Regions from separate parts of the Homo sapiens genome. Here all the other regions are linked to region 7. The links are contacts of gene promoters, found by promoter capture Hi-C in blood cells and fetal thymus (Javierre and others, 2016). All regions are on one chromosome and are shown on one strand. Each heading gives the region's core, a stretch centred on a gene start or on the middle of the fragment in contact. The rest is flanking DNA. Distances are from core to core; before and after follow the strand shown. Region 1 has its middle 20 kb from the start of ZNF467. Region 2 overlaps KRABD3 (KRAB domain containing 3). Region 3 holds the start of TRC-GCA9-3 (tRNA-Cys (anticodon GCA) 9-3). Region 4 holds the start of TRC-GCA23-1 (tRNA-Cys (anticodon GCA) 23-1). Region 5 overlaps KRABD3 (KRAB domain containing 3). Region 6 holds the start of TRC-GCA19-1 (tRNA-Cys (anticodon GCA) 19-1). Region 7 holds the start of ZNF783 (zinc finger protein 783).

Region 1 (3,984 bases), core at 1,085-3,584, 490 kb after region 7:
GGTATATTACAGTGAGGCTTTAAATGGGACATGCAGAGTATGTGAAACATACCAGATATCTAACTCACATAATTGCATTTGAGCAGTAAGTTTAGCTTTAACCATCTCAGCAGCCACATGAAAAAATAGATCGCTGAATTTATTAACTTTGGGATTTGTGTTTGCTGTCACCCTGTCTTAGTTCACAGCTATAACTCTGCAGGGGTGGATTTTAGGCACTCAGATTATCCGGTAGGGGAGGGATTTTGAGATGGGTAGGCCTTGTAAAGGCTCCTCTTCCACCTGTACAATTCAACATACGTGTTGTGAGTGTTCAAATGTGCCAGGTCCTGGAAATACCAAGACAAAAAAACACGACTTCCGCCCTCGAGATGTTCCCAGTGGGCCTGGAGAGATGAGGCTCCTACAAGGGTGTAACCTTTCTAAACCCCGGTTTCCTTACCTGAGAAGTGAGGACAGCAACCCCGTACCAAAGGGGGCTTAGGGGAATTAAGTAGGAGCCTCAGTCACAGGAGGCACTCACACATTTTAGGCACACGCGGACACACCCAACAACTGCAGGCGACATCTGGTAAGGTGGGAAGCAGAGGAACCATGACAGCTTAAAGGAGGAGATTGTTGTGTGCTGGGATCATTGGGGAAGGACACCCCCAGGAGGTGGCCCCCATCTGTGCTCGAAAAATAGGTAGGATTTAAAAGGGAAGTCAGGGCAGTAGGCACTTTGTGATGGGGAAGCCCAGGGAGGCCGGGGCAGGAGGCAGGAAGGACCACACGGCCCGGAGACAGGAACAAGACCGCTTGGTGTAAGGGAGGGTGTGTACCCAGGAGGTTTGGAAAATAAGTTTCAAAAGTTTGTTGGGGCCAACTGTAGAGAGCCTTGAGTTAGAACAGACATGTATTGCACACTGGCTAGGTGGGCACTCTGCTCTGTGCCAGGGAAGCTTGCCACCCCCAGAGGGACACACAGAATAATGTGGCACAATGTGTCAACCGCTAAGGCCTCTGGATATTCAGATGAGCAGAAGTTTCTAAGCTGGGGCGTAATAAGTTATAAGGAAGATCAGCCTGACAGTTGGAGGATAGATGGGGAAGCAGGAGTTGGGGAGAAGTCAGAGGGGGACCTGATAGGAGAAGGTTGCCCACTGGCCTGGGCTTGGGGGGACAGTACTGGGAGGGTCAGGGGCAGCAGGGGCAGCAGGGCAGGCATCTGCAAAGGATGAGCGTGCTATGACGCGAGCTCCATCATTCTGGAGAAAGAGGATCCTGAGGCCTTAGGAGTTCTCCTGGAAGCCCCACAGTGAAATCTCAAGAGAGAAAATCCCAGCGAGGACAGGGACACTGGGCCCACGGGAATCCTGTCTTGCTGGGCCGGAGGGGAGCCCTGGGTCTGGCTCCTGTAGAGCCTGAAATAGAATCCGATTTGCGATGCCCCTAATGATGTTATGTAATGACATTGCATAAGCCCGTTACGTAAATCAAAGTCCTGCTATTGACCAAGAATGTCCCCTGCCCCAAGGCTGACCTAATCCCACGCCTGAAGGCTCAGTCCTTTGTGGCAGTTGGATAAATCTGTTTCCTAAAGCCTCTGTGAAACCCTCCCGACCTTAAAGTCTCTGTCTTTAGGGTTCCTGGGGCCTCCTTCTCCGTTGCTGCTTCTCCACTGTGGGAGGCCTCAGTGTGACACTCACTCATCCTTCCCCAGGTGAGGGTTCCCAGGGAAGGACAGGATTCCAGTCCTTCCACCAGCGTGGAATTGTGGCCGTGCGCCCTCTTCTGGGGGTCTTGCATACTCCCTCTGACTGTGAAATACAAGACTTGTCTCTGGTTAAAAGACATTTCAAGGATCAGTAAGTGAGTGAAGAAGTTTTCTTCCCTGTGGGGCATGGGTGGCCTCCCCAGGACCCTGGAGTTAACAACTACGAGCAGGTTCTTGAGTCCCAGGAGCAGAAAGAATCTTTCACTACTGGAAACCAGCATGTCCCGTGAACGCACTCACCAACCTGTCTGCCTTCAGTCGGCCCATCTGTCTCCCTGAACATACTAGCAGAAGCCCTCCCACCCTCAACCCACCTCGCCAACCCCCACCCCGGCTCCCCTTCAAGCCCTCTCCCCAGCATAGGCAACATCTTCCTCGGGAGGCTGTCTCCTTCCTTCATCTATGTCTCTCTACAAGTAAATCCTGGTGTGCACACCACCACCCCCGACACATAAACACAGTTTACAGAAACACCAAACAAAACAGTCATGTTTGATGGAAAAAGGCTGAGTTCCCAGTTGCTCTTAGTGTCTCCTAAAAGTCAACTGTTTACTGTCCTATCAAAGCTATTTTACTGTTATAGGACTAGGAAAAATTTAAATTTAAAAATCACACGAAGAATAAAGTAACACAAAGCAAAACTGTTTATGTTTTATCTTTTTTTTTTTTTTTTTCAGACAAGTTCTTGCTCTGTCACCCGGGCTGGAGTGCAGTGATACAATCTTGGTTTACTGTAACCTCAAACTCCTGGGCTCAAGGCATCCTCCTACCTCAGCCTCTTGAGTCACTAGGACTACAGGCCTGCTACCATGCCTGGGTAATTAAATTTTTTTTTTTTTTTAGAAATGGAGTCTCCCTATGTTGCCCAGGCTGGTCTTGAACTCTTGGCCTCAAGTGATTCTCCCACCTCGGCCTCCCAAAGTGCTGGGATTACAGGTGTCAGCCACAGTGCCCAGCCTCTTTTGGCTTTTTTGAATGATATGACACATCTCCAAAACATAGCACAGGGTGGATCCAAGAGCTCCTGGGGTAAGAGCTGCCTGGACCCACAGGTCCACTCTCATGGGCTCTGATTAGAGCTGCACTGCCCCATTCCCTCCCAATACCAGGAGCCCTCATTTCAGCCTCAGCTCCCCCAACTTTGACACAGTATTTTACTCAAGGTCTCTGTTATGAATTGAATTGCGCCCCCCAAGAAGTCCAAAAAGTTGTGTTGAAGTCCTAGCCCTGGCCCCAACCTATGAATATAGCCTCTTGAAAATAGGATCTTTGCGGATAAAATCAGGATGAGGTCATTAGGGTGGGCCGTTCTCCAATATGACTGTTGTCCTTATAGGAAGAGGAGGGACACAGACATGCCCAGAGTGGAGGAGACCCAGGAAGAAGGTGATGGGAGGATGGAGGTAGAGATTGAAGTGCTGTGTCTATAAGTCAAGAAATGGCCAGGAGAAAGGCCTGGAACAGAGTCTTCCCTTGAGCCTTCAGAGGGAGTGTAACACCTGATTTCACACTCATAGCCTCCAGACCGTGAAGGAATAGATTTCTGCTGTTTTGAAGCTATGCAGTGTGTAGCACTTTGTAAAGGAGGCCTCAGGAAGCGAACACAGCAGCTTCGGTGAACGCAGTGCCACATGGCACAGCTCCCCCCTTGCCTGTGTGCAGGGGGCAGCAATGTCAGCAGGACAATTTTCAGGCAATTCACAGAGACTGTGGCTTGGAGTTGGGCCCAGGCTGGCCAGTGTCTTGGGAGTCTGTGAGGCCTCGACCCTCTTCCCAGGTTGCTATCTGCCTGCCCCATAAACACATCCTGAGACTTTGCTACCTTCCTTTCCCCCTTCCTTCCTGGTGTTCTCTCAGAGCTGTACCTGTCTGCACTGCCTGGTCTCCTTGGTACATCACCTGCTTGGACATCAGCCACCCTTTCTCAGTGCCTCGATTCAGGATGCCATAATATATGTTTTCTATGAAAATGAAGCTTCATTCTGCCTGCCGATTCCTACCTATTTTAAATCACAGCTGACATCCACGCCTCAACAAAGATTCCCATAGCTGTAGCTCCATGATTCATGATCGCGTCTAGAAAGGGAACATTTTGCAACAGATAGCCAGGCCCAACTTCCATGGCTTCATGCTTCTTCCCAGGTCTCTGCCACCCAGCACTGTCCTCTCCCAGGAGACAGATGCATGCTAATGCCACGTGTGTGTGTAACAGGTTTCCCGGCTGGCTG
Region 2 (4,090 bases), core at 822-3,321, 460 kb after region 7:
CTGATATCAGTGAGGTATCAGGTATCTGGTGCTGATACCAGCAACTGCTCCACGTTCTTCTGGATGGGCACCTGGAGCCAGTTCTGCAACCGTGGTGGCTCCTGAGCTTTGGCCAGTCCGAGGCAGCCATGGATGGGGGGCAGCGTGTGACTAGGCAGAGCAAACACTGTGCCAGGCCCTTGGCGTCATTAGTGCCCCCAAGCATTTGGGGAGAAGGGAGAGGCTAGGCAAATTGGATGTTGTTGGGCAGGGACAGTCAAGTGTCCTTTTCAGGTCTGGCTGCACAGTTAAGTAGCCTAGGGACACCCTGGTTCAGACATGCCCATGGCCCCATCCTAAGGCCTCCTCATACCACAGTTTCCTGTTCTGTAAAGTGAGGAGTTTGGGCCATTGACCTTTCAGATCTGATGAGGGGAATATCCTCACACTACGTAGCTTCATGGAGAAGGTGGCCAGGAGTGACCTTGGGGAGTGGTAGGTCACTGTAAGGTGGAGAGGAGCAGGGAGGGTTCCCAGAAGCCCAGGGCAATGTGAGCACAGCCTCCAGGTTGAGAGGTCCTGTGGCAGGGTCTGATCAGGGAGCCCGAGCCTGAGGCCCACTGGGAGAGCAGGTCTAGGTTGGGAAGGACTGTGAGAGAGGGGCAGGTCCAGCAGGCACTGAAGCTGCAGTTTTTGTGCTGGGCTAGTGACACGGTGGAAGGGTGATGTTAGGAGGACCAGTGTGCAGCTATGAGCTAGGAGGCTGCCCAGTTACAAGAGTCCTGGGTCAGCCCAGAAAGCTTTTCTCCATTGGTTGGGGGAAGGAGGTGAAGTGGGGCCCGAGGAGGAAGGCCGGTGGTGTGTGGGCAGAGCCAGCCAGTGGTGGCCTTCCTCCTCCCGAAGATGAGTTTTGTAGCCCAGGTGTTTGCACACTCACACTTGCTCACTCCCTCACACACAAAACCCTCACTCTTTGCTTTTTCTGGGGAGAGGGAGGCCACTGGCAGAAGCGCCTACCCTGGCCACAGTCAGTTCCCATTCTCATTTTCTAAGAATTTTATCACAAAACAGTTTGTCTTGAGGCTGAGATGGTGAGAGGCCTGGAAAGCATCTCTTACAGATTCCTGGAAGAGCTGGGATATATTTAGTCTGGAGCGAGAGAGACACCGGTGGTCAGGAGCAGTATGTGGAAGAGCTCAGCTGGCAGGCTCAGACCTGCAAGCGGGCATTAGGCAGACAGGTCTGGCTGCAGTATTACTAATCATAGCACTTAATATTCATAGTCCCCGCATTTGTTCTAGGCACTATTCCTGTATTTGTTTTGTCTTCACAATACCTCTATGAGGTAGGTTGTTATGATCCCAGTATTACAGATGAGTTCACTGAGGCCCAAATAGGTTAGGTTTGGCTGAGGTCTCATAACTAGTATGAAACAAGGCAGGGATTGGAATTCTGGCAGCCTGGCTCCTGAGGCTAGGCCCCAGTCACCGTGCTCTGCCCCGGTCTCTGGGTCCGGAACCTCTTAATGGCCACATCAGGTCAGCAGTGGTACCAGTGCAACCAACATAGCTGGTATCATGTTCTTACCTAGAGCTCAGACCTGCCTTGCCAGCTCTGTGTTGAGCCATCAGAATGTCATGTGGGAACCCTCTGCCTGCCATGAACCAAAATTCCAGACTCCCAGAAGGAAAGCAGGGGTGTGGCACACACCACGTCATTTGCTCAGCCTAGGCACCTTGAGCCACTCCCATCATTTAGGGAATGGTGGGAAGCCTCCTGACACCTAAATACCTGGAAGCCAGCCTGAGCCCTCCTGGCAAGCAGGCCTTCCTAAGGACAGCGGTCTAGGGCTGCTCTGCACGCTCTTCTGCATAGACCCTGATGTTGGCTACATTTTCTCTGTTCCAAGATGCTAGGAAGAAATGTAAATAACTCTTTGAGAGAAGTTTTGGAGGGTGTCTGAGACTGTTCCTGAGAGGGAGTGACCATACCTGGGCCAGAGCCACAGAGGTTTGCTCAGGGAGAGTCTGCACATCGAGGCAGGAGGCAAAGGCTGCAGCATCTCACTGCCCATCAGCCTCTGGGCCTCCGGGCCTCAGGCAGGCAGTCACGGGAGGGGCTGCCCCTTGCCAGGGGTGTAGATGCAGCCTGGCCAGAGGGGAGCACTGGTAAGTGTGACTGCATGGGACAAGTTATCAGCTGTTCAGGGAGAACAGGCAGAGAGCCCGGCAGTAAGTGGACAACAAGGCTGCCGGTTAGTGGCAGGGACAGTTTTTTGTTTTTCTTGAAACAGGGGCTGGAGTACAATGTTGTGACCTTGGCACACTGCAAATTCTGCCTTCCAGGTTCTCCTGCCTCAGCCTCCCAAGTAGCTGTGATTACAGACACCCACCACCATGCCTGGCTAATTTTTGTATTTTATTAGAGATGGGGTTTCACCATGTTGGCCAGGCTGGTCTTGAACTCCTGACCTCAGGTGATCCACCCACCTGGGCCTCCCAAAGTGCTGGGATTACAGGCGTGAACCATCACACCCAGCCTGGGACAGTTTTTAGAATCACTGACTTGGGTGGGTGCAGGGGCTCACGCCTGTAATCCTAGCACTTTGGGAGACCAATGTGGGAGAACCACTTGAGCCCAGGAGTTCAAGACTGGCCTGGGCAACATAGTAAGGTCCTGTCTTTTTTAATTAATTAATTAAAATAACTGCCCTGAGCAGATGAAACAAGCGGTGAATTGTCTTTGCTTTATTAGGGGCGTGTTCATTTTCTTTAATAATTTGTTCTCACAAATAAACAGTTTAACATTCATTTCTCAACAGGAAGGACCCTTCCCATAATTTACCTTCTGTTTGCTTAATTTGCACAGTTAATTTTTGCCATAATTTTAAATTCAAGCCTATTGATGCTGGTCATTTTCTAGTGTCTGATGGCCACTTTAAAGTCCACTGAAGGACTTTTTTTTTTTTTTTTTTTTTTTGAGATGGAGTCTCGCCATATTGCCCAGACTGGAGTGCAATGGCGTGATCTCGGCTCACTGCAACCTCTGCCTTCCGAGGTCAAGCAATTCTCCTGCCTCAGCCTCCTGAGTAGCTGAGATTACAGGCGCCCACCACCACACCTAATTTTTGCATTTTTAGTAGAGACAAGGTTTCACCATATTGGCCAGCCTGGTCTCGAACTCCTGATCTCAGGTGATCTGTCTGCCTTGGCCCCCCGAAGTGCTGGGATTACAGGCGTGAGCCACCACACCCAGCCGAAGGATTATTTTGTAAAGAAACATAGACAAAAATGCTCGTGTTATTTTAAAAAGCCACAGGGTAGGAGGAGATGAGTACAGAGAATAGGAGATAGGAGTACAGGGTGTAAAGGAGCCTGGTGACCCAAAGCTTCCAAGGGCAACCCCAGGTTTCTTCTGAGCACTTCTCTAAACCCAGCACACAAACTAGGTGGACAGCAAGAATGTCTTCTCTCACAGCCCTGCAGACCCGAAGCCCTACGTCACAGTGTGGGCAGGCCACACTCCCTCTGAAGGCTCTGGGCCAGGATCCTTCTTGCCTCTTGTGGCTTCTGGTGGCCCTGGGCATTCCTTGGCTTGTGGCTGCATGACTGTAGTCTCTGCCTGTCTTCACACAGCTTTCTTCTTTTGTGTCTGTCTCTGTGTCTCTTCTGATAAGGAATGAGTCATACTGGACTAAGGGTCCCCCCTACTTAGGAGTATGACCTCATCTTAAGTAATTCCATCTGCAGGGACTCTGTTTCTAAATAAGGTCCTACTTACAGGCGTGAGGGTTAGGACTTCAGCGTGTCTCTGCAGAGACACAGCTCACCCCCAGCACTGTCTCTTGAGGGGATTCCTGCATGTCAGACCCTGGCTATTATCCTGGAGTGTGCGCCTGGAGGCCTAGGTGGGGTTACCAAGTGCAGGGACAGCTAGGCTGTCCCCTCTGGGATGGAACAACCAACCCCCCCGGAGACTGTGCCTGCAGGTGTCCATCACCTTCAAGGACTTGGCCGTGCGGTTCTCGGAGGAGGAGTGGCGGCTCCTGGAGGAGGGGCAGAGGGAGTTCTACCGAGACGTGATGCGGGAGAACTACGAGACGCTGGTCTCT
Region 3 (3,935 bases), core at 58-2,557, 370 kb after region 7:
CATGTAAAATTGTCTGTATGCTGGTACAAGGACTCCAACTATTGCTAACCTTCTAGTCTCCTTACAGTTAGCACATTGGTCTGAGTAATTTATGTAATTTCCCTATTGGAAGCTTAGGGCAGTTTCCGAGGGGAATTCTAATGTAGGAGGAAGAGGGGACTCTGGGGTAGGGTGGCCACAGTGTGCAGTTGATTCCTTGTTGATGTTCGCTCCAGCATGAGCTGCACACCAGCTGGCTACTTCCACAGGCACACTCAATGCAGGAAGCCATCTCCTAAGGACAGTCACTGACTCTTTTTAGGGCCACCACAGTGAGATCCAGACTGAGAAGACAGGAGCTCGCCTGGTACTTGGGGTCGTAGGACCATTTCAGGCAGAGAGGGCTTCAGATTCCTCCTTCTTCATGCAGGGGCCATTGGATTCGTACAAGAGCTGCATTAGTTGCTCTCTTTCTTGCTCTTCAGGAGGGCTTCCTAGCAACTGCCCTGCTGCCCCCACCCCAACTCAGCCATCTCTCTCATACAGGGAAGACGACTTGTCTATTTCTCTTGCTGTATATGTGGTTTTATCACTGAGCAGGGGACTTGTCCCTTCCTTGATCGTCTTCCTCGAGGTATGACTAGAAAGACCTTTCTCTGCCTTTAATAATGCTGACACCATCATTTTGACCTGATTGTAAGCCCCAGCTGACTCGGGAGGGCAGCATTGGCATTTTTATTTTTACTGATTCCTGCACAGTTTATACACCTCCTTGGGCATGGTACTACCTGACTATACTAGGTCCTCACCATCCGAGAGGCCTCTGGGGAGGCAGTAGGTCAGGGTGGAGAAGGCACGTGTGGAAGGGGGTGCTGTGGGACTCAACTCAAGTGTGGCTGAGGGACAGGGGGTCAGGGCCTGGGTGCTGGGCACAGGACACAGGCAGCAGGGATGCCCCGGCCCATTGTGGGTGCCTTTTGCCCTCAGACTCACCACCCCCATGGTGATGTTCCAGCCGGGTGGACAGTGGACAACTGCTGTGTGAAAAAAGAGTGACAGCATCAGAGGGGAGGGGCTGAACACTGGGAGGGATGAGAGCTGCCTGGAAGGAACGGGGCAGAGGAACTGGATGAGAGAAAGCCTGGGAGGATCTGAAGAAGGAGGAGGAATTAGGACAATGCCAGCTGCAGGAGGCAGAGAAGACTTCCTGGGGAATATTTTATCAATTTCTCTCTTTTATTTTTAACCACCCAGAAGGCTCAGTACCTGGAAGGCTGGAAACATGGACATTGAGTTATCACATGTAAATCGGAAAAGAGAAGATTCCCCCACCCGCTCCCTGGTTTCTTCACCTGCTCCCAGGGGGTTACCATTAACTATTGGTCTATTATCATTCTTTTTTTATGGCCACACAGTATTCTATGGTATATATGTGCCATGGTTTTGTAATACTGAGTATTATTATTTAAGTAACTTTCTTTTACAAAAGCAATTTGCTTATCACTTGGAAAATTATCATGAACAGTATTGTATGTCAAATACAAGTCCCAGACACAGGCACTGGGCCTCCTTGCAGTGCATGGGAAGGTGGTGTCACCCAGTTAGAGTTCTGTCCCCAGTCTAGCACACCTCACATGATGCTCAACAACTGCTACTGTCAAAGAGGATTATCTGGATGACTTGAAGGGTCTTTCCAGTCATAAAGGTCAACAAGGCCACCAGGGTGTCCTCAGCCAGGTCCACACAGAAGCGATGGGAAAAGAAGTGTTAGTGACAGGAGGGAGGCCAGAATTCAGAGAGACAGAACTGGCCTGGACATCCCAACCTGCAGAGCTGAGTCGTGTTCTTGGTGTGTCGACACATGAAAAGGGTGTTAATTACACCCTCTCCCTGGGCCTGGGGGTATAGCTCAGGGGTAGAGCATTTGACTGCAGATCAAGAGGTCCCTGGTTCAAATCCAGGTGCCCCCTACCCTGTTTCACTTTTAATCACCAAAGTGGGTCCTGGATCACATGCTCCTCTCGGGCTCTCTCTATTAACTCAACCCTGGGCAAGATATGACCAGGCCTGCTGCCCCCTCTGCTCCTACTCCCCATCTGCTGAGCCCTCAACAGGCCCAACGAGATGCCCGCCTGCACCCCCTCCCCCGCCCACCCCGGTCCCCGGAAATCACCCAACTGACTTCCAGTTGAAAGTCTAGCACTAAGAGGCACTAAATTTGCACCATGGACCTCTTGACCTGCAGGCAAATGCTCTTCCTCTGAGCTAGAAACCCACTTCAGATGAGTTCCCAATGGACACTGCTTAAGGATGTCGCCTGCCCAAGGGAGGGATCCTCCTGAAACCCACAATAGTTTCTGTTTACTCCAGGTCAGGTCCCATGTCCTAGCAGACCTATCTCATACCAACCAACCCTCTCTGGCCATTGGCTCTATCCCTCTCCCACTGACCCCTCATTTGAGTCCCAGAGCCTCCTTTGTACTGTGTGGTCCATTCTCCTCCTTCTGTCTCAAGCTGAGTGCGTAAGCTTTGACATCACTTCTTGCTGGAATGATCATCCACTACATCTCTCCTTCCTTTGCCTCTTCCTCATGGACATTTATTCTAAAATCAACCCCATCCACCCCACCCTCACCCTCACCCTTTAGACAATGGCTGGATTTTGCTTCTTTTCTTTTTTTTTTTTCTTTTTTTTTTTGATGGAGCTCATTCTGTAGCCCAGGATGGAGTGCAATGGCACGATCTCTGTTCACTGCAACCTCCACCTCCTGGGCTCAAGCTATTCTCCTGCCTTAGCCTCCCAGGTAGCTGAGATTACAGGCATGCGCCACCACGCCCGGCTAATTTTTGTATTTTTAGTAGAGACGGGGTTTTGCCATGTTGGCCGGGCTGGTCTCAAACTCCTGACCTCAGGTGATCCGCCCGCCTCGGCCTCCCAAAGTGCTGGGATTACAGACGCGAGCCACCCCCCTGGCCCTTTTTTTCTATTTTCTACCTTTTCCTCCTCTTTTATCCCAAGGCCAAATTCAAGGCCTTGGACTGCAGGGCTGACCCTAGGGGAGGTGGAAGCTGCCCTCCTGGTGAGCAGCCCAGTTGTCTCAGAAGGTGTCACTCAGCAGGTCAGCACATATGAGGGATAGGGATTGGGCGTAAGCCTGTCTGTCTGGGGGTCCAAAGCCCAGGCCCAAAGGGGCTTCTGAACTGGGATGAGGAATCCCTCCCTCCAGTGGCTGAGCCACGGCCCCAGGCACGTGAGAACACAGGCAAACCGGGCACCTTCCCTGGCAAGACACATCCACAGGGACACGTGGTGCTGTCCCTTGCTGTAGTCAAAGGCCACGTAGATTCCAGACTTGTGGCACAGGGGTCCCGATTGGTGGGAAAGCCCCTAGATATTTTCTGTTACTACAGTGAGTGGGCAGCTTTGGCACTTGGTGGGCAGCGGCCAGGGCTACTGGGAGTTCTATGAGACACTTCATCAGCTGGGAGAGGAGGCTGCTTTTGCTGTCATGGAGATTTGGCAGAGTTTAGAGTTTGTTTGGATGTTTGTTGTGAATTCTCCACATCTTCTCGTAAATTCTCTCTACAGTTCTTGGATTGGTGTTCTTTCCTGAAAAATGCCCCAGCCTTCACATGAGAGCCCAGGGAGGCTGTGCATTTAACTGAATGCAGCAACTGCAAGATCCAATTTTGCCTCTGGTTTTCTGCTATGACACACGGGAGCCTTAGAAAAGATTCTCTCAGCATAATGCTGGAAGCTCTAGGAACCCTTCTGCGCGTTGCATGGAGAAGCTGGGCCTTTGCTCTAGCCTAGTAGTTCTCCATGCATTAGAATCGGCTCCCTACCTGTAGCTTCTCCTGTTTTATGGCAGCTGGATCTCTTGCCCTCAATGGGCTCCATTGCAGCCAATCACAGGCACCAGTGTATGTAGCTCTTCCGCTGTTGTGAGCCCTGG
Region 4 (4,056 bases), core at 1,467-3,966, 330 kb after region 7:
CTGGATTGTAACCTATTGCAGCCCAAAAGTATCTGTTCTCGACCATCTTTATGTCCTCTAGCACTCAGCACTGTCCTTGACACCTAGAAGATTCTCAAAATGCATCTGTAGAACTAAACTGTCAATGTCCTGATGACGACTGGCAAAGCGGCCAGCCCGGAACATGCTTCTGCCCTTAGGGAAGTGCAAACCTGACTGAGATGAGATGACGGACATGGGGGATGCATTTAATTTCACACAAGTGGCGCACAGGAGGGCCTCTGCGGAACACCACCTTTCTCAGTGTCAGACGAAAGGGAAAACCAAAGTAGGTGGGACGGTCAAGGGCGGGTCTTCTGGAAGAATCAGGGGTCGAGCCTTGCAGAGATGTGGTCTCCCTAGTCAAATGACCCAGCAGGTCTCCACTTCAGAAATTTGGTTTTTCTCGTGTCCACCCGTCCTTCCCTTAACTTTCAAAGGTGCTGACTGGCTCCAGGGAAATCTGAGACACTGATATCTGGTAACCAGATTCACCTTAAATAAATGTGTGCTTTTAATCATACCGAACCATAAGGCTGACCAATGGGTTTATGTTCTACAACTGCTACAGGTTTAAATTAAGGTTAAGGCCAGCCGCGGTGGCTCACACCTGTAATCCCAGCACTTTGGGTGGCCGAGGCGAGCGGATGGCCTGAGGTCAGGAGTTGAAATCCAGCCTGGCCAACATGGTGAAACCTCATCTCTATAAAAACACAAAACTCAGCTGGGCATGATGGCGAGTACCCGTAATTCCAGCTACTGAGGAAGCTGAGGCAGGAGAATAGCTTGAACTCGGGAGGTGAAGGTTACAGTGAGCCGATAACGCGCCACTGTACTCCAGCCTGGATGACAGAGCGAGACTCTGTCTCAAATAAACAAATTAATTAATTCATCAATTAACGTTAGTCATCGGAGGCAAGGTGGACTCTTTGCAAAGCTTTGAATTAACTTTGTCTTCAATCCACAGCTGCCCCTTGAACAACATGGGTTTGAACTACGCAGACCCACTTATAAGTGAATTTCCTTCTCCTCTGCGACCTGAGACAGCAAGAACAACCCCTCATCCTCCTCCTCAGCCTACTCAATCTGAAGCTAATGATGAGGATGATGACCTTTACTATGACTCACTTCCACTTAAAGAGTAATAAACATATTTTCTTTTCCTTATGATTTTCTTAATAAAAAGTTTCTCTAGCTTATTGTAAATATATAATATATAATACATAGAGCATACAATATACATGTTATTGATTATTCATATTGTCAATAAGGCTTCTAGTCAATAGGAGACTATCACTAGTTAACTTTTTGGAGAGTCAAAAGTTAGATGTAGACCTTCCGCTGCATGGGATTGGGGGCTTGCACCCCTGGCCCCTGTGTTGTTCAAGGGTCAACCATGCTCCTGCCTTCCCTCTCAGTGTCCTCCTCTTCCTCCCCTCATCCTGTGCCCTGCCTTTGTCTCTTCCTAAAAGATTAGGTTTGCCACTTGTTTCCCTGATAGAAAGTGTTCGGTTCTGGAGCATTAGCTGAGTAAGTAGCAGTCAGGGCCACTTGAGTGGCCAGAAGTGCCAGGAAGACAAAGAGAGAAAGAGGCTTTTTCCTTCCTTGCAGCTTCGAGGGCTACAAGCAGAGCCATGTCTTCCACTGTGCCTCACACAACTGGGGATCCTCAAAATGTGGACAGAGGGTTCACAGGGTGGGGAAGAATAGGAAGAAAAACAAAAAAGAAAACACAAGAGAAATGCTCACCAAAGCAAAGCAAGACAAGACTGAATCAGGCGTGCAGAGCAGATCTGGGCAGGTCACGTGGGGCAGCAGGAAAGTAGAGAGGAGCATGGGACAAACCAACCTCCTTACCCTCTCGTCCTCTTTGCAGGAAGAGTCAGGTGCAGGGGCCTCAGGAGGTGAAACGAAACTATTTTTGAATACTCTGGTCAGTATGGGAAGAAATTAGTGTAGGTAGGGAACACATGAATTTGAGTCAGGGACCTGTGGATCATCAATCAAATGCTTTACTCAAAAACAACTACTGAAGCCTGAGTACACTTTAATTCTGAACTTCAATGCAGGGAGTCGAGTAATCACTCATGGCCTGCCACCACCCCTAGCTGACTGTGCCATTGCAATTGGTCACCCTCCTACCATGCCCACAGCTTCATTCTGACATCCCCCACCTTCCCACACTCTCCCACCTCTACATACCTGGCCACTTGCCTATGCCTGCAGCTCAGCACCCTACATGCCCTCAGTGATGGACTGAAGGCAGGCACTAGCTTGAACATCACTGATGCTTCCCACTGGGATGTTGTTTAGAATGACAAGTTGTTGTAAGTTCCAAAACAATTTTCCAGCCACTTGGAATTATTGGATGTTAGAACAGGTATTAACAGGGGATTATGCCCCAGACAACCCCCAAAAGTAGAAGTTCTCTGATTCCTCCTCAGTCCTACTAAATTGGAATTTCTAGGAAGTAATCTGTATCTTTGACATGTTCTGTCAGTAATGCTGATGCAAAGTCAGACTACATAACCTCTAATTCAGGCTGTCCTGCCATAATATAAACTTCAAAGAAGAGCAGCTAATTAGAACTTTTGAAGCACATGCAGATTATTACTGACTTGATCATGACTTGTGCCAGAAAAATGAAGTCATGAGAAAACTGACACGAACTATAGGAAGAACAGTGGTGAGGATGACTAGCAAGCTCAACATCAGGAAAAGAGAACCCACAGGTAAGTGGCAGCAGGGAGTAACCGGATTTGAACCGGGGACCTCTTGATCTGCAGTCAAATGCTCTACCTGTGAGCTATACCCCCTTGCCTGGTGGACATTCCTCCTTAGCATATTTCACCTGTGTTGCCACACCCAAGGATTCTACAGTGCACTATAAATTGTATTCATTCCCAGCCAGCTTATGGAAACTGGCAACTCTACCACAACTGACTAGAGACCGCCCTTCTGGTCATGAGTTCACCCCTCCATTTCCCAGAGACCCTTCACTGGTCTAATGGTACTTTCCTACTCTGTAGCCACAACCTGAACTCCTTCAACTATCTCCTCCCATTCCCTTACTCAGTACCTGATGGGAATAGGGGATGAGGGTTGGGGGAGAGGCAGGTGTAAGAATCAAGGCTGTATTAGTCAGCTATTTCCACAACAATGTGTCACAACAAATCATCCCAAAATTAGGCTGTATGAAACCATAAGCATGTCTCGTGCTGATAGGTCAGCAGCATGGATGCCAATCAGCTGATGTAGGCTGGGTCTGCTTCAAGCTGTGGGTCCATCTGTGCTTGGTTTCTGTCTGAGCCGGGCTCAAGTTTGCTCCATGTGTGTTCCTTCCACAATCCCAGCTGGAGGAGTAGCAGCTAGCAAGGGGACACTCTTCTGGTGGTGACAGCAGAAATGCAAAGGGGGAGGCCCAACTATGCAAGCAGCTTTCAAGCCTCTGTTTGCATCACATGTGCTAACATCTCATTGATCAAATCAAGTCAGAGAAGCAAGCCCTAACTCAAGAGCAGGGAAGCATGTTCCACCTCTAGTGGGAAGATCTGCAAAGTCTCATGGTGAAGGTCACAGATGCAAAAATAAGTGAAGATCCAGGGCCACTTCCAAGTGGTTCACTTGTGCCTTGTAACCCCTGAGCCCCCAAGGCCGGTTGTTTCCTGCTTGCCTTCAAATGGAGGGATTAATCTGATCAGGCCCAACTGCCCTGCTTGCTTTTTGTTGTTATTATTTCCCTATTTCCACGAAGCTGAAGGCCACCGTACCTGAAAGCCTCAATGCTCAATGCAGAAACTTAACTTTCATGGGAGGCTTTATAGAACTTACGTAGGTCACATGGTGATGGTCACTTCAGTTGTTTTTCAGGCACTTGGGCCAGCTCCTGTCCAGCTAAAACTGGTTTAGACAACTGACTCTTCAACTGGTCTGAGCAAGTGCCTGAGAGGTGGCCTTTTGATATAAGAGGGCCAAAAATCTCACCCTCAAATCATGCTAATGCCACAATTTTCTGTGGATATGTCCTGTGAAATGTCA
Region 5 (3,684 bases), core at 129-2,628, 470 kb after region 7:
TGGCCAAGCCTTTCCTGTGGTTTGCCCAGGGTTGGGACCAATTCCAAGGGAATTTAGGGCGAAGGATTAGGTGATCTTTTTTTAAAAAAAACAAAAAGCTTATGACTCCTATGAATCTGTAACTTCTCAATAGGGAGAGTAAAAGCAGAAGGGGGTGGGAACCCTTGTGGTTTGCCTGTAACGAAGAGCACTGAGTTCTGGAGTGGCCCCAGGGTCACCCCACAAAAAATGCGCAGAAGGCCCTTGGCTTGCCTGGCCCTCCTGGCCCATCTCCTGGTGCTCCCACGGCCTTGGCCTCATGCTGTCTCGGGGGCTCTGGACCCTTCTCACTGACTCCTAGGGCAGGGTGCCATTTGGTCTCATCAACAACACAAAGACCCACCGATTCCTAGAAGGTGGGAAGACCGCAGTTTAGGAAAGCCTGGTTACCACGGAAACCCAACCTGTGGTTGATCCTGCCCATCAGTTTGGGGAACAGCCAGGAGACATAGCCAGTTTTCATGCCATAAGCATTGGCATCTGCGTTCTCAGGCCTCACCCACCTTCCTTCCTTTCTGGAAGCTGGGCCTTGGAGGAGGCAGAGTACTGAGCGCCCTTGGTTCATGGGACCTCTGGGGAGAGAAAGGTCCTTACAAACCAGGAACTCTGACCGGTCCTTGCTCTGGTTTTAGCCAAGACCCATGAGAGGCTGCTCCCCCAGGGCCCGCCTGAGCTGCCCAGTGAGTCTCCCCCTCCGGAGCTGCCCCCTCCGGAAGCTGCGCCTCCTGTGTTGCCAGCCTCCTCCCTGCAGCCGCCATGCCACTGTGGGAAGCCCCTGCAGCAGGAGCTGCACAGCCTCGGTGCTGCCCTTGCGGAGAAGCTGGATCGGCTCGCCACAGCGCTGGCAGGCCTGGCTCAGGAAGTGGCCACCATGAGGACCCAGGTGAATCGGCTGGGGAGGCGCCCCCAAGGCCCTGGGCCAATGGGCCAAGCTTCCTGGATGTGGACCCTCCCACGGGGACCTCGCTGGGCTCATGGCCCTGGTCACAGACATCTGCCCTACTGGAGGCAGAAGGGACCCACGAGGCCTAAACCAAAGATCCTGCGTGGCCAGGGAGAGAGCTGCAGGGCTGGTGACCTGCAAGGACTCTCCAGAGGGACCGCTCGCCGGGCACGTCCGCTGCCTCCAGACGCTCCCCCGGCAGAACCTCCTGGGCTCCACTGCAGCTCTTCCCAGCAGCTGCTGTCCTCTACACCCAGCTGCCATGCTGCGCCGCCTGCACACCCCCTCCTCGCACATACCGGGGGCCACCAGAGCCCCCTTCCCCCTTTAGTGCCTGCTGCCTTACCCCTGCAGGGAGCCTCTCCTCCTGCAGCCAGTGCAGATGCAGACGTGCCGACCTCAGGAGTGGCACCAGACGGGATCCCAGAGCGGCCCAAGGAGCCGAGCAGCCTGCTGGGAGGAGTGCAGAGGGCCCTCCAGGAAGAACTGTGGGGTGGGGAGCACAGGGACCCGAGATGGGGGGCGCATTGATGGCATTCCTCTTCTCCACATCTGCTCGTTCTTGCCGAGGGTGCAGTGGTGGCGTGGAAGCCCTGTCACCCCACCCCAGGCCACCCTCTCCCAGAGGACGCCATCTCCCTTACTGTTGCTGGGAGCCTCGCCCTTTGTCCCAACTGGGTAGAGCCCCCAGGTGCTGTTTGCTCAGGAGGCTGCTGTGGGGGTGCCTTCCTCAGCCTCTGGCCCTCTTGGCTCAGATTCAATCAAATGTTGCTTCCCTCTCCTGTCTTTCCCACTGGAGCCGCCCAAGCTTGTAGGTGGGTGGTGTGCATAGGCCACGTGTGCCCCACATATGCAGGGGGTGCCCCACACAGCTAGAGCGGCCAGGAGAGCGCCTCCTAACCACCAGCCGTTCCTGATCTCAGGAGCCTTGAAGGGCTGGGCTCTTGCCTTCCTGGAGTAAATATTGGCACAGATTTCATTTGAGAGAACTCAGCCCCCTGGTCTAAGCTGGACTTACCTCTGTGGATTCTGAAATTAAAGAAGTGAGTTGCTAAGGAAGGCCCTGACTCCTATAGAAGGGAGGTCCATGTGGGCCCACGCTGGGGCGGGGCTGGTTGTGCCACCAGCACGCTGCCTCGTCTCCCAGACATCCTCGAGAACATTCAGGAGTGTGCCAGGAAGGGTGGGGCAATTCCCACAGGACTCCTGGGGCACACTCTGAGTCCCCTGGGGCTGCCTCACAGAGGAACCCTGCCTGGGCAGCTTCAACAGCAGCACATATTGTCTCTGTCCTGGAGGCCAGAAGTCTACAATCCAGGTGTCAGGTTCAGTTCCTGCTTTGGGCTGGGAGGGAGGATCGGTCCCGGACCTCTCCCCTTGACCTGTAGATGGCTGTCTTCCTGTTCAGATGGTGTTTTCTACACAGCTGTCTCCAGATTTCCCCTTCATATCAGGGCAGCAGTTGTATGGGGTTATGACCCACCCTAATGACTTCATTTTAACCTGATTACCTCTCTAAACACCCCCTCTCCAAGTGAGGTCACATTTGGAGGTACTGGAGGTTAGGCCTTCACCATACACATTTGGGGAGGGGCACAGTTCAGCCTGTAACACACCAAACGGGCTGGGCCAGTCTTCCTGGTTTTGTCTTGGGAAAAGACATGACCAGGTATCACTAGCCCACTTCTGTCCTGGTTACCGGAATGTGCCTGCTCCCAGCCCGCTCAGCTGGCGCTTGGCAATGCGTTGGAACCAGCCTGCCTGTCATTCCCTTGCATCATCTTCCCAAGAGGCAGAATGCAACCTGTGTGCCCCCAAATCCCTTATTTGACCTGAGGTGGTTTCAGGACCTGTATGTGCACCTGTTGACTGGCAGGGCCAGCCTGGTGTGGACTGGCAGGGCCAGCCTGGTGTGGACTGGCACACTTGGCCCTGTCCTCAGGTCCCTGAGGAGCCTGGGACACCAGCACTGTGGCCTGGGGCAATGCTGGCTGCCCACCATGACTACAGGAGCAGTGCCTTGTGGCTGCAGCGCCCAGTGTGTCCCTCAAGTCAGGGTCACTGGGGACACACTCGGGGCCTAAGTGCCCTGCAGCTGAGCTTGGGAGCTGAAGCCCTTGCTCTTTGCCACCCTGTAGAAGCAGCAGGGCAAGGACACCTGTCAGAGGGGAATGCCCGCAACAGACTGAACATCACAAAGGGATGGGAAGATGCTTTCAGGACTAGAGTGAGCCCCGAGGTGACTGTCTGGAAACAGATCCTAAGACCATACAAGTAGGATGTTTGTTGAAATACGGAGGCTGTTCGCTCACAGCCGTGCTTGCACAGAATCAGGAAGGGAAAGTTTCTAGGTTGCTCCTGCCTGAGGAGCTCTCCTTCTAATAAGCAGGGAGCAGTGCCGGGCACGTTTCAGAGCCACGGCAAGGGGTGGGACACAGTTTCAGAGGGGGGTTGAGAAGCGAAACTGCCCCTGCCCTGACTCTGGCTGTGAGGAGAGGACTCTTGCCCACCCCTGCTGCAGCTGGTGCAGTCCCATCGTGCCTGCCTGTCCTCCCATTCTCCTTTCCCTTCTAAGCAGGGGTCACTGGGCTGTCGACTCAATGGGAGGGGGGGTCACCTTACACTTCTGTGTGGCACATTAAGGTGGTTTTGCTTTGCTGGCTTCCGAAACAGCCACCACGCAAACCCTAGTTGACAGGCAC
Region 6 (4,054 bases), core at 393-2,892, 350 kb after region 7:
CCTTTGCAGCCTCCAGACTCGCCATGGCCCTCTGGTCCCACTTTCTCTTTCAAACTGTCTTTTTCTCATTCCTTTGACTCTGCTGGACTTCGTCACCCCCATGACCTGGTGTTGGGTCTGATCACCCCAACAAAAGAAAACAGGAAGGGGGCACCTGGATTTGAATCAGGGACCTCTTGATTTGCAGTCAAATGCTCTACCCCTGAGCTATACCCCCATGTAATTGCCTGTCTCCAATAAGAACTATAAACCTGTATGGCCACACCCTGACTGTCACCATTATGAGATATGTACTTGCTTCGTCACGATATACCCCCTTCCTACTCCACACCTGCCTGCCAGCTCTACTTACAACCAGCATCCTTCCTTCTCCAGTGTGTGACTGAAGGCAGGGACATTAAAATCACTGCGGTTTGCAGCCAGAACATCCTTCAGACTCGCCTAGAACAGAGGGACTCAAAAGAACTGGTTGCTCAACAGACCCTTTAAAGGTGAGGCTGGGCTGGGCAGAGCTGGGTAAAAGCAAAAGTTCTTGAGCCCCACTTGAGGACTCCTAAGCCACACTATCTGGGAAAGGACCTAGGGACATGTGTGCTTCTAACCAACTCCCTGCACCATTCTGACTTACAGTTTGGAAACACTGGTTTAATCTGTTCCCTTCCATGGTATAGATCTAGAAAAAATGACAGTAATTAAAATCATGCCCAAACAAAACACACTTGATTAATGACCAAGTCATGACTAGAATCCACATTCATGATAAAGGGCCTCTTTGCACTGAACACTCTGAGGCAGGAGTTGAACTGCCTTTTCCTTTCCTCTTCTTTCCTCTTCTCCTCCATTCGCTGAATCCCACAATGTGTCAGATAAAAGTAGTGACCAGAAGACAAGATCCAATCCATGGAAAAGTGGAGAAGTGGAGAATCAGAGAAATCTGTGGTCACAGACATGACACAGGACGGAGTGACTGCAAACACGTGGGCAGAGTGAAAGGAAGGGCCAACAAGTGACACCATCTTGAACCAGGGACTAGATATGCAGCCAGATGCTCTGCCCCCAAAAGGTGCCCTCTCAACTGTTTAGACTTTCCTGATTGACACTGTTTCACCTATGTTCCCACGCCCAAGGATCTAATAGACATTGTAATTTCTCATCATTTTCAGTGAACCACTGGCAACTGACCTCCTTCAGACAGACCTCTATCTGGCTTTGAACTTACCCTGTCCTTCCCCATGGACCTATCAGAGGACTTCTAGAAATCTTTCCTGCCTAGAATCCTGCAGCCTCCTCCTCAGTCCCTGTGTGGGGCAACAATTTGGAGAACTCCTGTTTAGAGCTGGAAGCTTCCTCTCTCCTTCTCTCCTACTTTAGTTTTATCTTCTCTTACCTACATCCCATACTCTCTCTCCACTTCACTTTCACCCTCTGCACAGTGGGGTTACTTTGGGCCCTGGCCTACATTTTTTGACTGTCTTCTCTTCTTCCCTCTCCTCACTTACTAGTCCTTCCCTTTAAAAGGGAGACACCACCTTAACAGAGGGGACCCAGCCCCATGCTAGCCCCAAACCATTAGCTCAGCACAACTGGCAGAGCCAGGACCAGGCACGAAGGCTATTTGAGCTCTGAAGCTCAGGCCTCCAGTATCCTGAATTAAGACAAGGATCTCTCCCCATCAGGTTGGCAGAAATGTAATTATAGAAACTGGGCAGACATAAAGAAACAGGTTCTTCATAGCTAGCTGCTGCTAGGCGCACCTGGTGGCACTGGGGTACTTCTGGGGACAGCAATATGGCAATGGCAGAGACAAAATCAAGCAAGCCTATGATATGGTGAGGCCACCGCTGGGTCTGTTTTCTGGAGTAGCATCCCCACAGGGGCACAAAAAGAGACAGGCCCAAGAATGATCACTACGGTATCGCTTGTGAGTGTGAAAAATCAAAAAAAGCTTAAGTGCCAATCAGTGGAGGAATGGAAAATAAGTTACAATATAGTTGCTTCTGGAATATTAAGCATCTGTTAAAAGGAATAAACTTGATCTACATGTATCAACATGGATAGGTCTGAAATACAGAATAATGAGTGATAAATATAATGACATCTATGTAATGTTTCAAAACACAAAAATCCATATATTGTTCACAACTACCAATGCACACAGTAGACATTTTAAAATGTGGATAGAGGGTGAGCACGGTGGCTCACGCCTGTAATCCAGCACTTTGGGGAGGCCGAGGCAGGTGGATCACGAGGTTACGAGATCAAGACCATCCTGGCTAACATGGTGAAACCCTGTCTCTAATAAAAATACAAAAAATTAGCCAGGCTTGGTGGCATGCGCCTGTAGTCTCAGGTACTCCAGAGGCTGAGGCAGGAGGATTGCTTGGACCTGGGAGGCGGAGGTTGCCGTGAGCCAAGATCGTGCCACTGCACTCTAGCCTGGGCGACAAAGAGAGACTCCGGCTCAAAAAAAAAAAAATGTGGATAGAAAGGATAAACAGACAATTCAGGACAAGCGGCTGCCCTACAGAGGTCTGGGAGACCTAAATGATATCAAAAATCCATTATTTCGCACACACACATCACACACATACACACACACACATTTTGAATTACAAAGCATGGCATACATTCAGCAAATAGTTACTGAATTCCTACTCTATGCTCAGCAATATCTCAGGTGCCTAGAATGAATATATGAAGAAAACAGTTAAAAAGTCTTTGTACTTTGAAACTGACATTCTAATGAGGTAGACCTGACATACGATGAAATCTATAAATAGGAAATATATATATTATGTGACGCTGTCTGACACGGAAGACCGAAAGCAGGAAAGTAGGCCCGGAGTCCTGGGTGGGGAGGGGCTGCAGTGCCGATGACAGGAAAGGCCTGCAGGTGGGACCTGCCTGAGGAGCACTCCCAGCAGAGGGCACTGCGAAGGTCCTGGCACAGGGTGGAGGGGACACCACCAGGGATGGTGCAGCTGGGCAGAGTGAGAGAAAAGTGGAGGAGGTGAGCCAATAGTGCGGGTCAGATGGAAAGCCAGGACTTGCGTCTAAAAGGGATTACTCTGCTGGGCTGAGATGAGACTCTGGGGGATCAGGGCAGGGGCTGGCAACAACCTCAGCAAGAGACGATAAGCCTGGGTGTCAGAGTGGAGGGGATGAGGCGTGGACAGACTCTGGGCAAACCTGGCAGGGAGGGCCAGTAGGGTTTCTGGTGGAGTGGATGCGGATGTGGAGGAGGAGGTCAGAGAGGACTCGTGGGGTTTTGCCTGTAAATGGAAGGATGGAGCGGCCATTTACTGGGTTGGGGAGAATGTGGGAGGAGCAGGCTATTCAGAGAAGACAGGAGCTCAGCGCTGGGAATGTTTGGGGGGAGTTTATGAGACACTGAGGTGGAGATACAGGCCAAGCAGCTAGATGTGCGGAATTTGGGGCAAAAACCCAGGTTTGAGGCACACATTCCTAGATGGTATGTGTGGCCCCAAGACCCTGGGAGACGATGGGAATGAGGAAATGCAAGTAGAGAGCGGGTGTGAGAACCAAGGGCGCTCTAGGGCTGAGAGGCTCCACAGGGCAACAGGAACCAGCGAAGAAAGAGCAGTGAAGGTGGGTGGCAGGTGAGAGGAAAGTGAGCAACATGGCAAGTGTTACGAACAGGCCAAGTAAGAAGACAGACCATTTAACACCACGGAGGGCCCTGGTAACCGAGGCTGGAGAGGTTTTGGCGGAAGGGGTAAAAGAGTGGGAGGGAAGAGGCAAGAGACAGCAAGCACAGATGTACCCAAGGGGCTCTGCCACGAAGCGGAGCAGAGAAGCAGGCCGTGGCTGTAGGGGTAGAGGTCAAGGTAGGATTGACTGTGTTGCCCTTGAGAAGCTGGCATGGGGTGGGATGCAGCACCAGGTGGAAGTGGGGCTTTGGCTGGAGAGTCGACAGTTTAGCAGTCACAGGACTGAAGGCAGAGAAGGGGGCACAGGTGCAGGCAGATGGCATGGGGAGAGCTGTGCAAGTGAGTGGTGTATTTCTCTTTAATTAAAAAAAGGGGGTTAAAAT
Region 7 (3,566 bases), core at 625-3,124:
TCACTTTCATCCCCTCCTGTTTCAGACCTAGAAATGTTGAGGTTTGTGCCTAGCATCCTGTATTTTTAACAAGAACCCTCAGTGAACATGATGCACACTGAAGTTTGAGTACCACTGACTTAGAGAAACTTTTTTTCTAAAAAACGAAGACTAGCTGTCAAACATTATAGCACTCTTTCCTCAACAGAGCTCATTAAATCCTAGCATTTTTGTCTCCAGCCCATTTTCCTGACCCTTTCTTTCTTTCTTTTTCTTTTTTTTTTTTTTTGAGATGGGGTTTTGCTCTTGTTGCCCAGGCTGGAGTGCAATGGCATGATCTCGGCTTACTGCAACCTCTGCTTCCCGGGTTCAAGCGATTATCCTGCCTCAGCCTCCAGAGTACCTCACCACCACACCCAGCTAATTTTTTGTATTAGTAGAGATGGGGTTTCATCATGTTGGCCAGGCTGGTCTCGAACTCCTGACCTCAGGTGATCCATCCGCCTCAGCCTCCCAAACTGCTGGGATTACAGGCATGAGCCACGGCTCCTGGCCCATTTTCCTGACCCTTTCTGTTTGCATTGGACCTTAACTGTTATTCTATAACGTCACCATTTACTGGTATTTTATAATCCTGAATAGATTGGACTGATCCCTGATAAGATCCTAGGGATGCTCTTAATGTCTTTAGTGCATACTTGCAGTTTGTGTTTTAGATTGGGATAGTTCAACAAGAATTTCCAAAATGAATAATGCCAAATATTTATTTGATTTGTTACCTTAAAGTAACACGTCCTAACCTTTCCGCAAATTTTGGGGTTCACCTTACTTAGGATATCAGTTTGTGTTTTTTCTGATAGTTGACCACGCTTTTGCTTGGCTCAAATATTTGTGAAAATAACTTCTCACCCTCACCCCCCCCCCCCAAAAAAGAAAAAACAAAACCAAAACCAAAAAACCCCAAACAAACCCAAACACAGAAAGAAACAAAACTGCAGATTTCTAGCGGGAAGAGTTTGCCAGCTTGTTGGACAAAGACTGTGAGATGAATGGGAAATGCAGAAAAGACAGAAAACAAAGCTTCAACTGCATACAGCACATTTAGTTCAATATGCCTCAGCACAGGCCGAGGAAAATGGGTCCTGCGGTTTATTCAAGATGCCTCAGGGCCTAAATGAGGGATGGACTGATTCACACTTGCTGTGATCTCAGCCTGGACCAAAGCTACAGAAGGGTCCTCGTGGGTGGCTGAGGACTTTCACCAGGCGGGCCCCGGGAGGAGGAAGGGACCCCAGAGTCCTCAGGAGGGGAGGGCAGGCTTAGGAAAAAAAAAAAAAAAATCCTACCATCTTCACGTTTGTTCTGTCAAATTTAAAAGAGACTTTAAAAACGTTCATGTAAGTTTCCCTGGCTTCTCCCTGGGTACACACGTATCCTTTTTACTTTCCCCAACTCAGTTCTGTGGTGCGTGGGAGGCGCTGCAACAGAGTCTCGGTCCGGACTGGAGCCCCGGCGAGGGCCGACCCCGTTCCCCACGCAGCTTTCCCTCGCGAGGTTTCGCACTTTCCAGCGCGGTTCCTTCCCGCAGCCCTCCCGGCTCCCGCGTGGGACGCAGAGAGAGGTTGGGCGCCGCGCTGGCCCGGGAGTGGCTTACGCCTGACGTAGCCCCGCTGGAGGCCGTGGCACGCCCGCCCTGGCGTCAACTCCCGCGCCCCGGGTGAGGGTGGGTGGCCGCGCCTGGGTCCCGGACGCCGCGGGCGCTGAAGGCCTCGGGAGGGCGCGGGGCGGCGGCCGCGGGCGTGCGGTCCTACGGGCTGCAGGGGGCGCTGTGCGCGTCCTCAAGCTCGGCCGCCGAGCGCAGCTCTTTTTTAAAGGGCCAGCGGGGCACGTGGCTCGGGACGCAGTTCGCTGCCGCCCGGCAGTAGCTCTCAGGTTAGGCGGGTCCCGCTCCGCTTCCGCCGTCGCTGCCGCGCCGCCCCGGGCCCGACAGGCCGGGTCCAGGGACTGCAACCCAGCGAGGGACGCGGGCAGCCATGGCCGAAGCGGCGCCTGCCCGGGTAAGCGCCCTCGGCCCCGCGGACGCCCGGAAGGCCCAGGCCGCCGCCGCGTGAGCCCGCGCGAGGGACTCTGGCCGCGCGAGGCCGCGGGGTGAGAGGGCCTTGCGCGCAGCCTCCGCGCTCGTTGCCCCCGGCCCATCGCCCAGCCCGCGTCGAAGGCATTGACCGGGCGGCCCAAATGCCAGGCCCGGCGGGCGGGGCCCCGACGTCAGCGGCTGACGATCCGGCCCATCTGCGGCCTCAGCCAGGCCGGGCCCCAGAGTCACGCTCGGCGACGAGGAGGCCGCGCCTTAGGAGTATTGTCCCATTTGAGGCCTCGCGGCCCCCCCTACAGCAGGCTGGGCGGGCAGGGGCCGCCAGCCCCACGGGACAGTAGCGGAGGCTGAGATGGGAAGGGACAGGCCCAGGGTCACGCATCTATTAGAGGCGGGAGCCTCACGCCGGGGCAGGGATTTTGGAATTAGACACTTTAAAACGCCTCATATTCTACTTTTGCCAAAGAGAAAGATTGTGTCGTTTACAAGAGAGATAGTAGATTTTTTTAAAAAAGATTACTGTAGCAGATTTTATTTAATTTTTTTTTTTGAGAGGGAGTCTCGCTCTGTTGCGCATGCTGGATGGAGTGCAGTGGCACGATCTCGGCTCACTGCAAGCTCCGCCTCCCGGCTTCAAGGGATTCTCCTGCCTCAGCCTCCCAAGTAGCTGGGACTACAGGCGCCTGCTACCACGCCTGGCTAATTTTTCTATTTTTGGTAGAGACTGGGTTTCACTATGTTGGCCAGGCTGGTCTCGAACCCCTGACCTCGTGATCTGCCCGCCCCGGCCTCCCAAAGTGCTGGGATTACAGACGAGAGCTACCGCGCCCGGCCATTTTAAAATTTTTTAATTAAAAAAGTATATATATATACGTGTGTGTGTGTGTGTGTGTGTGTGTGTGTGTGTGTGTGTATATATATATATATATATATTTTTTTTTTAGACACAGTCTCACTCTCACCCAGGGTGGAGTGTAGTGGCGGGATCTCATCTCACTGCAACCTCTGCCTCTGCCTCCCGGGTTCAAGGTATTCTCCTGCCTCAGCCTCCCAATCCCAAGTAGCTGGGATTACAGGCGCAGGTGCCTGTCTCATTTATATCTATCTATCTATCTGTCCAGATACATATCTATATGAATAAGTTTATTCATAAGAATACACTATAAGTATTCCTATACAGAATTTTTCTCCTGGAGAAGGAAGAATCACATCAGTTTTTTTGGCATCTTCATCTATATAAGTTAGGCCAGTTTAGCAGATTTTAGAATCTTGGTTTGATATAGTGCAGTATGTCCAATTGGGAGATTATAATCCTTTGGCCATTTTTGACATACTGGAAAACGCTTGTAAAGGCTCAATAGATGATACCTACTATTATTAATACACCTCAGTGAAGGTTTTGAAACCTTGATTTTTCTGGATACTTTTATTAAAGTATAACTTCCTCTCCCTCCTCTTAGTGAGTGTGCTGAGCTTCTTTTTGGGTTCCCTGAGT

The links. Contacts are between HindIII fragments. The CHiCAGO score rates a contact against its expected background, and 5 or more counts as called.
Region 1: a contact is called between a fragment that was not itself captured here and the fragment with the promoter of ZNF783 in region 7, in 1 of 17 cell types (neutrophils). The highest score is 8.9, in neutrophils.
Region 2: a fragment that was not itself captured here is called in contact with the fragment with the promoter of ZNF783 in region 7 in 3 of 17 cell types (neutrophils, total B cells and naive CD8 T cells); the score reaches 8.5 in neutrophils.
Region 3: a fragment that was not itself captured here is called in contact with the fragment with the promoter of ZNF783 in region 7 in 3 of 17 cell types (neutrophils, naive CD8 T cells and non-activated CD4 T cells); the score reaches 11.1 in neutrophils.
Region 4: a fragment that was not itself captured here is called in contact with the fragment with the promoter of ZNF783 in region 7 in 1 of 17 cell types (neutrophils); the score reaches 6.5 in neutrophils.
Region 5: a fragment that was not itself captured here is called in contact with the fragment with the promoter of ZNF783 in region 7 in 1 of 17 cell types (neutrophils); the score reaches 7.4 in neutrophils.
Region 6: a fragment that was not itself captured here is called in contact with the fragment with the promoter of ZNF783 in region 7 in 1 of 17 cell types (neutrophils); the score reaches 9.4 in neutrophils.

What each region holds. Positions count from the first base shown.
Region 1 is chr7:149,752,078-149,756,061 of GRCh38, forward strand. No RefSeq gene overlaps it. Among named protein-coding and RNA genes, the nearest start is that of ZNF467, 20 kb to the right of the region's middle. The HindIII fragment of the contact is 2,790 bases long and covers 940-3,729 here.
Region 2 is chr7:149,715,579-149,719,668 of GRCh38, forward strand. KRABD3 (KRAB domain containing 3) reads left to right here. Exons shown (of 17, transcript NM_001290187.2): 2 at 3,968-4,090. Among named protein-coding and RNA genes, the nearest start is that of KRABD3, 2.7 kb to the left of the region's middle. RefSeq lists an enhancer at 1-295. The HindIII fragment of the contact is 2,588 bases long and covers 778-3,365 here.
Region 3 is chr7:149,633,810-149,637,744 of GRCh38, forward strand. It overlaps TRC-GCA9-3 (tRNA-Cys (anticodon GCA) 9-3), which reads left to right and starts at 1,878; the gene lies at 1,878-1,949. The HindIII fragment of the contact is 2,394 bases long and covers 111-2,504 here.
Region 4 is chr7:149,592,452-149,596,507 of GRCh38, forward strand. It overlaps TRC-GCA23-1 (tRNA-Cys (anticodon GCA) 23-1), which reads right to left and starts at 2,834; the gene lies at 2,763-2,834. It also overlaps the pseudogene ZNF767P. The HindIII fragment of the contact is 3,527 bases long and covers 954-4,056 here.
Region 5 is chr7:149,732,535-149,736,218 of GRCh38, forward strand. It overlaps KRABD3 (KRAB domain containing 3), which reads left to right. Exons shown (of 17, transcript NM_001290187.2): 17 at 672-2,041. The coding sequence ends at 1,513. Among named protein-coding and RNA genes, the nearest start is that of KRABD3, 19 kb to the left of the region's middle. RefSeq lists an enhancer at 2,527-3,443. The HindIII fragment of the contact is 819 bases long and covers 970-1,788 here.
Region 6 is chr7:149,612,920-149,616,973 of GRCh38, forward strand. TRC-GCA19-1 (tRNA-Cys (anticodon GCA) 19-1) reads right to left here and starts at 217; the gene lies at 146-217. It also overlaps the pseudogene ZNF767P. The HindIII fragment of the contact is 602 bases long and covers 1,342-1,943 here.
Region 7 is chr7:149,260,322-149,263,887 of GRCh38, forward strand. It overlaps ZNF783 (zinc finger protein 783), which reads left to right and starts at 1,875. Exons shown (of 6, transcript NM_001195220.2): 1 at 1,875-2,036. The coding sequence starts at 2,013. LOC124901769 (a long non-coding RNA gene) reads right to left here and starts at 2,020. Exons shown (of 2, transcript XR_007060582.1): 1 at 1,326-2,020. RefSeq lists a silencer at 1,473-2,342. The HindIII fragment of the contact is 3,928 bases long and covers 1,058-3,566 here.